Regions from separate parts of the Homo sapiens genome. Here all the other regions are linked to region 3. The links are contacts of gene promoters, found by promoter capture Hi-C in blood cells and fetal thymus (Javierre and others, 2016). All regions are on one chromosome and are shown on one strand. The core of a region is centred on a gene start or on the middle of the fragment in contact, and the rest is flanking DNA. Distances in the headings are between cores, read along the strand shown.

Region 1 (3,351 bases), core at 843-3,342, 4.1 Mb before region 3:
TGTGATACTAGAAACTTTTTTAAACACCCAAATCCCTCTCAAAGCACAGAAAACCTCAAGAGCAGTGACATGAAGGTAGCTTGAAACACAGGTAAGGTCCTTTCCAACAAAGAAAATAGGTGGTGTCCACAGCATATGGTGATTATTAGTTTTAATAGTCTGTGGTAAATTTTAAAGGTAGAAGTTAATTTGTCAGGCCTTCGGCTCTGTCTTCCTCCAGCTCTTGGGCTTCCTTTTTCGTTTCCCCGTCCTTCACCTCCTGCCGGGAAACGGGAAATTTGTCCTTGTTGTTTTCCTTTTTCCATTTCATTCTCCTGTTCTGGAACCAGATTTTTACCTGTCTCTCGGTGAGGGCTAGGGCGTGGGAAACCTCGATTCTTCTTTTCCTGGTCAGATAGGGGTTAAAAAGAAATTCCTTTTCCAACTCTAGAGTTTGGAAGCGACTGTAGGTTTGTCTTCCTCTTCGTCTACCAGGAGCTGCTGATTAAAACAAAAAAAAAGGGGGGGGGAATAAAAGTTTTAAAAATGTTATGGTACCTCTGCATGTTGCTGGAGGTTTGTGGAACGGGGGTCTACGGGGTGAAATATACACAGAGCTCTTTAGCTCCGATATATATATATAGGGTGTGCAGGCAAGAGGAGCAGAGAGGTCTTCACAATTATTCTGTCCCCATCATCTTTACATGGTTCCTACTTTTTTAAAAAAAGTCTGTATTACTTTATGAATAAGAGCCACTGTGGCTACACAAGAAGGAAAAGGAGGGGGAGAGGGAACGGGAGTTTTAAAGCCAGAACGTGAGATGAAAGCAGATTTCTCCCCCTCTCCCTTCTTAAAAAAAAAATGCATCCCAACCTTGTGGTCTCATCCACGGAAACATTTGAGAAGGAGACGAGCTCTGATTTAAGTGGTCTGGGTCCTCGCCAATATTACCACTGGACGATTTACAGTCAGGATATTGTACCAGCTCGGCCTCTTGCTGGGTCGTAAAAATCGGCTGTCTCTGTAAGTTATCGTATCCGTAAAACTTCGCGGGCTCCCCGTGACAGGCAATCCCGCCGCAGGGGGGAGGTGGCGGCGGAGGCGGAGGATGCGGAGGAGGAGGGGGGGCGGCCTGGTAGGCAGCGGCCGGGCTGCCCCCGCCGGGGTGGAAGTACTCCTGGCCCCGGCCTTCCCTACCGCCGCACCCAGTCCCGGAGGGCGGCGGGGACGGGTGCGGGTGCGCGTGCGCCTGCGGGGGCGCGTGCGGGAAGCCGGCGGCGCTGTTGCCATAGAGCTGCAGGGCTGCTGCGGCGGCGGCGTGACGGCCGCCGACCTCGGGCGCGAAGTGACAGTCGTAGTAAGTGGGATTGATGGCCTCGCCCGCCGCCGCCGCCGCCGCAGCCGCCGCCTTGTACTTGGAGTACAGCGGGTTCACGAAGTACGAACTCATTGGGGCGTCAGCGGCGGCGGCCCCGGGCGGGCGGGCGGCGCTAAGCAGCCAGAGAGCGAGCCTCGACTCGGCCGCACTGCCGCGGGGGCCTGTGGGGCGGCTGCTCTCGCCGCCGGGACCGCCGGGCTACGTCGCTGCTGCCGCCCGCCCGCGCTCGCGCGTCGCTTCTGAGGCCAGGCAGCCGCGGGCGCTCAGCTACTGGGCGCTCATGCCCGGCTCTTGCGCCCGCCGCCTCGGCTTCGCGCCGCCTCCCTCGCGGGTCGCGGGGCCTCGCCCAGCCCCCGCGCGCCGCCGCCCTCCCGGCCTTTCCCGGCGCGCCCCGGCTCGGCCGCAATATAATCGCCGACGCCCCAGGCGACCTGCCCCGCTGCCTCCACTGTTTCCTCTCAGGCACCAGTGACTGAGCGCACCCGGACAAGAAAAAAGTGCGCTCGGCCCACGGGGACACTCTGGCCTCGGTTTACAAACCCCGGCTCTGGAGGGAAAAGAAAAAAAACACCCTCTGCCCGCCGCCACCTCTTACCGCGCCCCCCCCGCGCCCCCCTCCCGCCAATCTCGCCCCCGCCGCCGAGGCTGCCGACCCGGTGCGCACCGGCGAGGCATTTTCGCACCACAGCACTGCACGGAAAGTCAGCGTGACGGGGACGAGGAGCCCCGCGGAGGGATCCGCGCGCAGTTCAGTCGCTACGGCCGACGGACGGAGCGCCGCGCCCGGCCCGAGATGCCTCCGCCGGCCTTAAAGGGGGCCCATAAAGACGCACTGCCAAGGGCTCCGTGTGCCCCGGGGCCGCGGGAATGCGGATCGCAGCCGGCAGGGAGGGGCCGCGGCGGAGCCTTAGACTTGGGGGAGCCAAGGAGGCCACTCCCAGGAGGCTGCGGAGCAAATGACTGCCTCCCCGAGCCCCTGGCTGCAAAAGCAGAGGTTGCCCGTGGCTTTTGCAGCTCTGGACACGCGGGTGCAGCCCAGGGAACGTGGACAAGAGGTGTTGACGGACCGGACCGTGCATTTGAGTTGGGGCATATCGAAGTGGTTTAATTAAAAGCCGCGAGTGTGGCCCCAGATCCTGGCGTTATCAAAGCAAATCAAAGCCTTTCTTTTCCAGCCGAGCGGGCCCTGTGGAAATGAGATGTACATTTACCCTTGACGCACCGCAAGCCTGGCCGAGGCTCTCAGGTTAATTGATATTTAATGGAAATCATGCCCATGAATATAGTTTCCATCATTTCACCCTTGATAGACGTCAGCCCTGGGCGCAGGGGGAGGCTGAAGAATGCAGGAGGGGGCATTAGGCTTGCTGAGAGAGTAAATAGAAGAGCGGACAGAAACGTTCTGAGGCGGGAAAAAGGGCTCGCGCTGGGGAGGGTGACATTTCCTCGGGCAGGACGCGGCTCCCGGGTCTCAGCCCCGGCGCGCAGCGAACCAGGGCCGGCTGCGGTTCCCGGAGGAGTGCGGAGGGCAGACGACCGCAAGTTCCCCCCAGGAGCCTCCCAGCCGGCGTTCAGATCGCGCCGGTTCCAGGCAGCTGCAGGCGGCCCATCTTATGCTAACGATCCTACTTCCTCCGCCAAGCCTGTGAAATTACTGCCGAGAGAGCGCGCAGGCCTCAAAGTTACGAATTTTTCCCAAAGCAGAGAAAGAGAAGGCTCAGCCTAGTTTGTGAGCAGAGATGAAGAAAAGTTGCCCGAGTCATGTGGCCCAGTCGAGTGTGAATCGACAAAATATTCCCGATTTTAGCAGCTCTCTCCAAAGCTGTCTGGCTTTACCCTACCAACCGCCTCCCCACACACTTCCTTTCCCTCTCTGCTCCCGTTTCAATGTCCAATAAATGCAATGGTTCTCTGTTGTGTGTGTGTGTTTTCCCCTCTCCTGCTCGGCCTTTCTCGTGGGCTCTTTGGGTGACTGAGCCCCGTTTCCTTCGGG
Region 2 (3,728 bases), core at 1,164-3,663, 4.1 Mb before region 3:
GAGGGTATTTAGGGCATTTGGAATCCAGTTGGAACAGAAAATTCAGTCATTATCTAATGACCCAGTGCATAGAGGTTTTGTTTTCTTTCCCCAGAAGGAAAATGTTGGACCATTTGTTGGTTTTTTTCCCTTTCCTTTAATCACCCAGAACTGGTTGTAAGCACAGTGCTGAAAAAAACACATGTGGAAATATATTTTCAAGAATGCAACTTTGAGTGAATCCTTTGCTTCCTTCTGGAAGGGTTAAGGCCCCCCTATATACATTTCCAGAGAGTGGGGAGGGGTGGAGTTCAGAAGTAAGTGCACATATCTCTGATTCTGCTCCCTGAAGTTCAGCCCCTTTCACCTTTTTAAGATTTTTGGCATGAAGGTGTCAGTTATTTCTGTACCACATTTCCCAACAAATAAATATTTAAGCAAATATCTAAACATAAAATAACCCATTTTTACTTCCTTCTTAGACCCATTTCTTTGGAGGTGGGGCCACTGGGAGCAAAATATATATTTTTTAATCACATGAAATTCCATAGACAACCCAGAAAGTCCAGAAATCCTGACCCAGCTCTCTGGCTTCCACTGAAAGCACCTAGCACAGGGGTGGCCAACCTTCTGCCTCAACTCCCCCACATTATTAAGCCACAAAGCACCCTGGAGGGGTGGAGTGGGGGAGAATGTCCAAATTCACAGTGGGATAAAGCATCCAACCTTCATTTGCAAATTCAAAATCCAAGAGCGGTGATTTTCATAAGTTTAATGACTCGCCAAGATTTTATGTTCTCAGTAGCTCCTGCCATATAATATACTTAGAGAGAGAATCCCGCCCCCCCTCCCATCCCCATCCCGCTCTAGGGAGGGGGCTGCCCTCGGGCAGGATGCTAACCTAGTCCGAGGGCGGCCTGCTTGTCCCAGGTCCACCCCACAGTACCTTAGAGCCCAGCGAGGTGACAGCAGGCCCGGCCTGCCCCCGCAGCTTCGGCTCAGCCTGGTGCGCAGGGAGAGATGGGCCCAGGGTCCCCACTTCTATAAGGTCGTCAGGTCCGTGTGGTGGTCTTTGGCCATCGGCTGTAAATGCTGGCTGGGGGCGACTGAGGAGGAGCAAGATGAGGAGGAAGATGAGGACGATGACCTGCCTTTAGTGTTGGGCAGCTTATGATCTTTTTTCCACTTCATCCTCCGGTTCTGGAACCAGATCTTGATCTGGCGCTCCGACAGACACAGGGTGTGAGCGATTTCAATCCGACGGCGCCTTGTCAGATACCTGTTAAAATGAAATTCTTTTTCCAGTTCTAGGACTTGCTGCCGGGTGTAGGCCGTTCGGGACCGCTTGGGTTCCCCACCGGTGTAGTTGGGGTTCACTGCGAGACAAAACAGACAGGACAGGCAGGTCAGCGCCCGGCCACTAGTTAGGCCCCTCGCCTCCGCCGCTCACTTCCTGGCGCGCCCCGAGGCCCGCGGCCCTCCCCGCGCGCTCCCAAGCTCGCTTGCTTCCTCCCTCCCGCCCTCTCCCCGGCGCACACGCTCACTCCCACCCACCTCCTCAAACACACCCACATACCCCAGGCTTGCGGGATCCCCAAATGTGCTCCTTCTTCTGGGCCCACCACCAGGTCCGGAACCCTCAAGCATTTTGGAAATCCCCCGCTCCTCCACAGCCTTCCCCCTGCTCTGAAAATGGAGTCCTCCCCCACCCCCCCATCCCCACCCCCTTTTGCGCCCACAGCCGAGCAGCCAGCCACATGGTCCTGACCTGCTCCCTCAGCTATAAAAATTTATGGGGAGAGTAATTGCGGCGCCCATGGAAGCTCCACACGCCCCCACCTACTCGCACCCCCTTCCAGAGGACCCAGGCTAACGGGCTGGGATGTGGACAGAAAGGTTACTGGACCCTAGCCTTACCCGAATTCACGTGCACCTTCTTCATCCAGGGGTAGACCACGGCCGGCTGCTTGAGTGCCGTCCCGGAGGGCGGCTGCTTGGGGTCGGACTGACTGTAGGCCCGGGCGCCAGGCAGGGGCGCCGGCGGAGGCGCCGGGGGAGCTGGGCAAGGCTCTCCTGGAGCGGCGTAGTGACCGCCGGGGCCGCCTGGCTCTTGTCCGTGACCCCGCGCAGGCAGCGCCGAGCCAGGCCCGGGGCCGCTGCCTCCGAAAGGCTGCTCACCGAAGTCGGGCCGTGGGTAGAGCCCCGGGGGCTGGAAGTCTGCGCCCTGCGCGCCGCCGCCGTAGTAGTCGGCGCCCTGCTCGCCTAGGTAGCCGCCCTGCAAATACTCCTCGCACGGAGGGAACTTGGGGTCCACATACTTGGAGTTCACCATATACGAACTCATGACCATTAATTTCAGAAGGTAGAAAATACTAATTTTTCTCGTGTTGTCTTTTTTTCTCCTTCCATAGGGCCCTCCTACTTGCTGTCAACTGAATAAAGTTGGGCAGCCATGTGACCAGGCCAGCCAATGGCGAGGGAGCAAGTTTATCACCGGGTTGGTGAGCATCTCATAATTTTCACAAATTTAACTAAATAACATACGTGTAATCAAGTAGCTTGCTATGGCACATTTGAGAGCCCCTGCCAGATATTAATGTAGTTCCAGTCCCCAGCACCCCATTCCCCTCAGGTAATCCCAGCTTTTGTCTGCCACTGATTTTGCCAACCTTCCGTGGCCCTTCCACTCACCCCCAGCTGAATGCAACCCCCGCCCCCCGACACCAAGTAGGCACAGCTCAAGGGAGAATGAATCCTCCTATTGGGGTACAGAGCAATGAAAGGTGGGTGGGTGAACTCGCCTCTGAGTTGGGCAGAGTGCCCCAGGCGAGGAGGGTTCCTGCCTGCCCGCCCTGCCTGCAGCCGGCGGGAGCAGGGATTCTGCCATACAAAGGCCGCCGTCCTGGCTTTGTCTTCATCAGGGTCACCCAAAAGTTACCAGAATCTGGCCAGCTTGAATCAAATTAGGCAATGAGTAACCGCCATGCTTTCTACCAGTGCCCAGGCCCGGGGGTTCCCAGCCAAAGCTGGGCCCTGCCAAAATAGCAGGGGGCCCTCGCTGCCCTTGCCCATGTAGCTGGGGGTGGGCTGGGATGGTGGCAAGGGCACCTCCACCTTGTCAAAATGCACCCTAGAGCTCCCCACTGGGCTTCTTTGAAGCTTGCTTTCTTCCCACAGGCCCCAAATACAAGCAAGCCCCCATTTGGGTACCTTTGCACCTCATGTTCCTGGAGGGCAGAGCTGGGACTGGGCAAGCTGGCCTTGTACCTCACTCCCTAGTACCCCAAAACCTAGCCCTTTGGCCCTGCATCCATGCAACCAATTAGGCTTGCATTCTCTCTTTCTCTCTCTCTCTCTCTTTCTCTCTTTCTGTCTTTCTTTCTTTTCAGCACCCAGAGGATACTCTGTTTAAAGGTGAGGAGCTTCTGGAGAGGAAAAGCTGCTCTATGTCACCAGGCGCAGCTGATCCTCCTGGAGTCCAAGGTAATAAAACAGAACGAGGCGGCTGACCAGCGCCGGCTGCTTCTAGTCTCCATGTCGCACTTTGGTCTCTGGCTATTCCGAAGAAACGTGAAGTTTTTGCATCGACCATATATTCCCCTAGAATCGAATCTGTGACTATACGGATACCACACAAATTCGGTTCTACAGGGTATATATAGACAACGTTACAACCTCTGGGTCCCACCCAGAGTGAGGTACCTAGGTCGCTGCCGGCCCCAATCTCTTCCTCTGAGCCACCACCGTTC
Region 3 (3,390 bases), core at 240-2,739:
GACAGAAACCTGAAGAATGGCCAGGCCCAGAGTCCACTGCCAAGGACATGTTTGTAATCAATGCCTCTGTTCGCGGGCTAATCTTTCATCGCAAAGCCGCGATGGAGGGGAAAGATACGGAAGGGCTGGGGTTGGGGGCTGGCTTCTGCGAGCATCCTTGGGGCCGGCCAATATGGAATACACAAAAGGGAGAAACGGATTCTTAAAAATCCCAGTCAACAGGTTCGGATTTTTCGGCAGACGTGCAAAGTTCAGATACAAAGATCACTGTAACTGTCAGAGAGGTAAGGACCTCTGATACAATGGATTTAAGAGGTTTTTTACTCCAACAGTCAGGGCAAGGGAAAGAGAAAACCGTGCTTCTCTTGGAATCTCTTCCAACAAGGGGGTTTCCTCCAGTCCCCTCCAGATGCGTTGACCGCGCTGGGAAACCGAGTCCAGGGCCAGGATTTGTTTTTCCAAAGCCGCGCGACCCCAGCAGGGCTTCAGATCCGAGTTCCCAGTTGCTCTTCAGTCTCCCCCGCGTTCTTCCAAACGCTATCAGGAGCCACGCAGGTTACCGCACCACCGGTCATTTCCCTGTTTCTTCTAAAAGTTCTCCAGCCAAATTTCAGCAATTTATTTAAAAAGGCACCAGGTCACCGCGACCTTCGGGCGGCTCCTCAGGCCTCATGGGGTAGTTTGGTCAGGATCTGCGCGCCCCTCGACGTGATCAGAACCGTGTGCTCGAACTGCGCCGACCTGTAACACAGCACCCAGCCGTCAGAACGCGCACGCAAGCTCCGGCCGGGCCACAAGCGCGCCGTCGGACCAATCTTCCTTTCCCATACAATTTAAAAGCAACAGAGCAGAAAGCAAACACCTTTGATTGTCTAGGGAGACCACAGTCCATGCATCCTCCAGGACTTTAAATTCAGGGGATCCCTCCGTGATGATTGGCTCTGTAAGAGGAAAAATATTTACTGCAGTGACCTCATCAGATTCTTGTTAAACATTGTTTCCGGCTGATTATTAAAAAAGAGAAGTTTCTCCTCCCTCCCCTCAAGTGCTTCCCCCACAGGCTCATGTTGTCATCTTGCAAGGGTTGATAATTGATGTTGCTTACATAGTATACTACAAACTAAACAGTTGGAAGAGGAAACACTGCGCCATTCAAAATGTATGAAGTTGCCTAGTTCGTAATTTTTTAGAGAAAGAAGGGCATTTTAATCAAGCTTTAATTAGGACCCCGTGGATAATAACCACCCAAACACCAGTCCCTCTTATAAATACCAATTTTTAAAAAAATATTTAAATTTTAAAAACATGCTCGAGATGTTCATTCATCAGCAAATAACAATTTTCTTATTTCACTCTAATTGCTTCTCCATTAAGTCCCACAGTCAGAAACAGGATGTCTTTACGGCCCTAGGTGACTGGAATTTGGTGGTGATACCAATCACAGGATCAGCCAGGAACGGGCCACCAGAGAGCACATGCCACTTGCTGACAGGGAGCAAGGGACATAATCGTGTCTAGTTACTGGGTGTTAATGAAAAAACAAAACAAAACAAAAAACCCAACACCACATTATGCTGGTAACAGAATTAGAGGTTGGATGGCTGCCTTCTCCTAAATGTGTCGGTAAGTATCTGATTTAGGAAGATGGGGCTTGAGGATATTATTTAATCAGATTTCCAGTGCATCCGAATTATTTCATTACACTGATTGGCTTTATTGGTCCTTCACCGGACTGCCGGGCCTAGGCCAGTGGCAAAAGCTTCCACCAGGAGCTACGCACTCACTCGGAAGAGGAGCTCAATTTACCTATAGTGAATGCCATGCCCTCCTCCATGGGTAGATCACTGTCGTTTGCTGCAAAACAAAAAACATGGGGGGTGAGAATAGGAAATGGGGAGGACAGAAAAAAAAAACAGATTACAGGGGTCAGGCCCCTTTAAAAAACTTGGTCGTTTTATTTCTCTTCTTTTAGAGAAGGAAGGGTGGAGATTTCTGGAGTCCTGGATAGTGACCAGGAGTTAAACACGGGGCTACTGGGCCTGAGTCTTTGCATTATCTGTGCTCTGGGTCAAGACTCCCCCAGAAGAGTTTTCCAAGGCCTGGCAGGGGCAGCCTGGTTGTTTCAGACACGTCAGGCTTCCTCGCCCCCTCTCCCTGTCCCCCAGGCTACTAGGTCTCCCAGCCTACTACTGGGTCCTGGGCCTTGCCCACACCCCTCACTCAAAGAAGTCCTGGGGAAGGATGCAAAGGAGGGAAGCCTCCTTTGGTGCAGGTTGTGGGGAGCAGGGGCCTGACTTCAAATAGCTTCACTCCAGACATTGGCACCAGGTAGGGCACAAGGCTGACAAGCCGTTTCTGCACTCTCACCTGAACCTCTTGAGCTGCCTAGGTGGGGGCTCTTTGGTCCAAAGAGGGTTTGGACCTGCTGGGTGTCCAGCGATCCTCGAGGGCATGGGTCCGAAAGAGTAGTCCTTCTATGGACCAATCAAGTCCATAGGGGCACAGGTCAAGGCCCCAGGACCAACTTTCCTTTGATCCCCGTCCAGGTGTGGACCTGCCTTGAGGGTGCTCCACTGAGCTGCCTCCTACCTCAATCCAAATCCTCCCACCCCTCTGGGCCCACCCCTGTCTTCTCACTATAGGGTGCACACCCAGGCAGTGAAAAACAAGAGATTCTGGGGAAGGAAGACAAGGGTGGGCATAATCTAGAAATCACGAAGGAGTACATGCTGCTAAATACATCAGCTGTCAACGCTGTGTAGGATGTAATGAAGTTTAACCACAACAGTCAGCAGCTAGAAAAGGGGGTAGAAAAAGAAAAACAGAAACAGTCATATGTGCATGCTGCTGGGACACTGATGCAGTGGCGTTTTGTTTTCAGTAACTTTTTCTACACAAATATCCCTTGTGCCTTCCAGCCATGCACCCTTCAGGAGAAGACAGAGAGCAAAATAAACCTTATTTTGGGATTGAAACAGCTGGGCTCTAATCCAGTAACACAGTAATGTCCCGGTTAAAATTAAGCAGACCCCCCTCCCCTGCCCCCTGCACATAAACACACACACAAACACAAGGTTGATAATGCAGATTCAAAGTCAGAGGAAGAGCTTCAGGGTCAAAGCTGCCACATCTTGATCTCTGATCAAGAAACAGCCTCCAAATGAACTTTCTTACCATGATGCCAAATTTCTGGATGTCCATGAAAGTAAGATCCTATTCCATGTCCCACAAAATGTGGACAGACTTGAAAACCATTCTGATGAGTTATGTGGCTTTAAAAGTGACCAAAAAATATTTAATTAAATTAGATAAGTTTTTCAGGCATACTAAGATAAAACAAAGTCACTTTAAAATATTCTCTGAAAAAGAAAAAGTCAGTAATATTTAGAG

What was found. The method cuts DNA at HindIII sites, captures the fragments that hold promoters and counts their contacts. A CHiCAGO score of 5 or more calls a contact.
Region 1: the fragment with the promoter of HOXD8 here is called in contact with a fragment that was not itself captured in region 3 in 1 of 17 cell types (total B cells); the score reaches 8.0 in total B cells.
Region 2: the fragment with the promoter of HOXD4 here is called in contact with a fragment that was not itself captured in region 3 in 1 of 17 cell types (total B cells); the score reaches 5.6 in total B cells.

The regions. Positions count from the first base shown.
Region 1 is chr2:176,128,446-176,131,796 of GRCh38, reverse strand. HOXD8 (homeobox D8) reads right to left here and starts at 2,092. Exons shown (of 2, transcript NM_019558.4): 1 at 854-2,092; 2 at 1-480. The coding sequence starts at 1,430. The coding sequence ends at 185. LOC100129455 (a long non-coding RNA gene) reads left to right here and starts at 1,269. Exons shown (of 1, transcript NR_187615.1): 1 at 1,269-3,351. The HindIII fragment of the contact is 7,912 bases long and covers 1-3,351 here.
Region 2 is chr2:176,150,235-176,153,962 of GRCh38, reverse strand. It overlaps HOXD4 (homeobox D4), which reads right to left and starts at 2,413. Exons shown (of 2, transcript NM_014621.3): 1 at 1,897-2,413; 2 at 737-1,355. The coding sequence starts at 2,329. The coding sequence ends at 1,021. MIR10B (microRNA 10b) reads right to left here and starts at 3,660; the gene lies at 3,551-3,660. It also overlaps a transcript of HOXD3 not described here. RefSeq lists an enhancer at 1,961-2,694. The HindIII fragment of the contact is 3,668 bases long and covers 1-3,140 here.
Region 3 is chr2:172,077,679-172,081,068 of GRCh38, reverse strand. METAP1D (methionyl aminopeptidase type 1D, mitochondrial) reads right to left here. Exons shown (of 10, transcript NM_199227.3): 7 at 3,175-3,272; 8 at 1,807-1,854; 9 at 863-941; 10 at 1-741. The coding sequence ends at 663. Among named protein-coding and RNA genes, the nearest start is that of DLX1, 6.1 kb to the left of the region's middle. RefSeq lists enhancers at 1-208, 209-737. The HindIII fragment of the contact is 545 bases long and covers 1,217-1,761 here.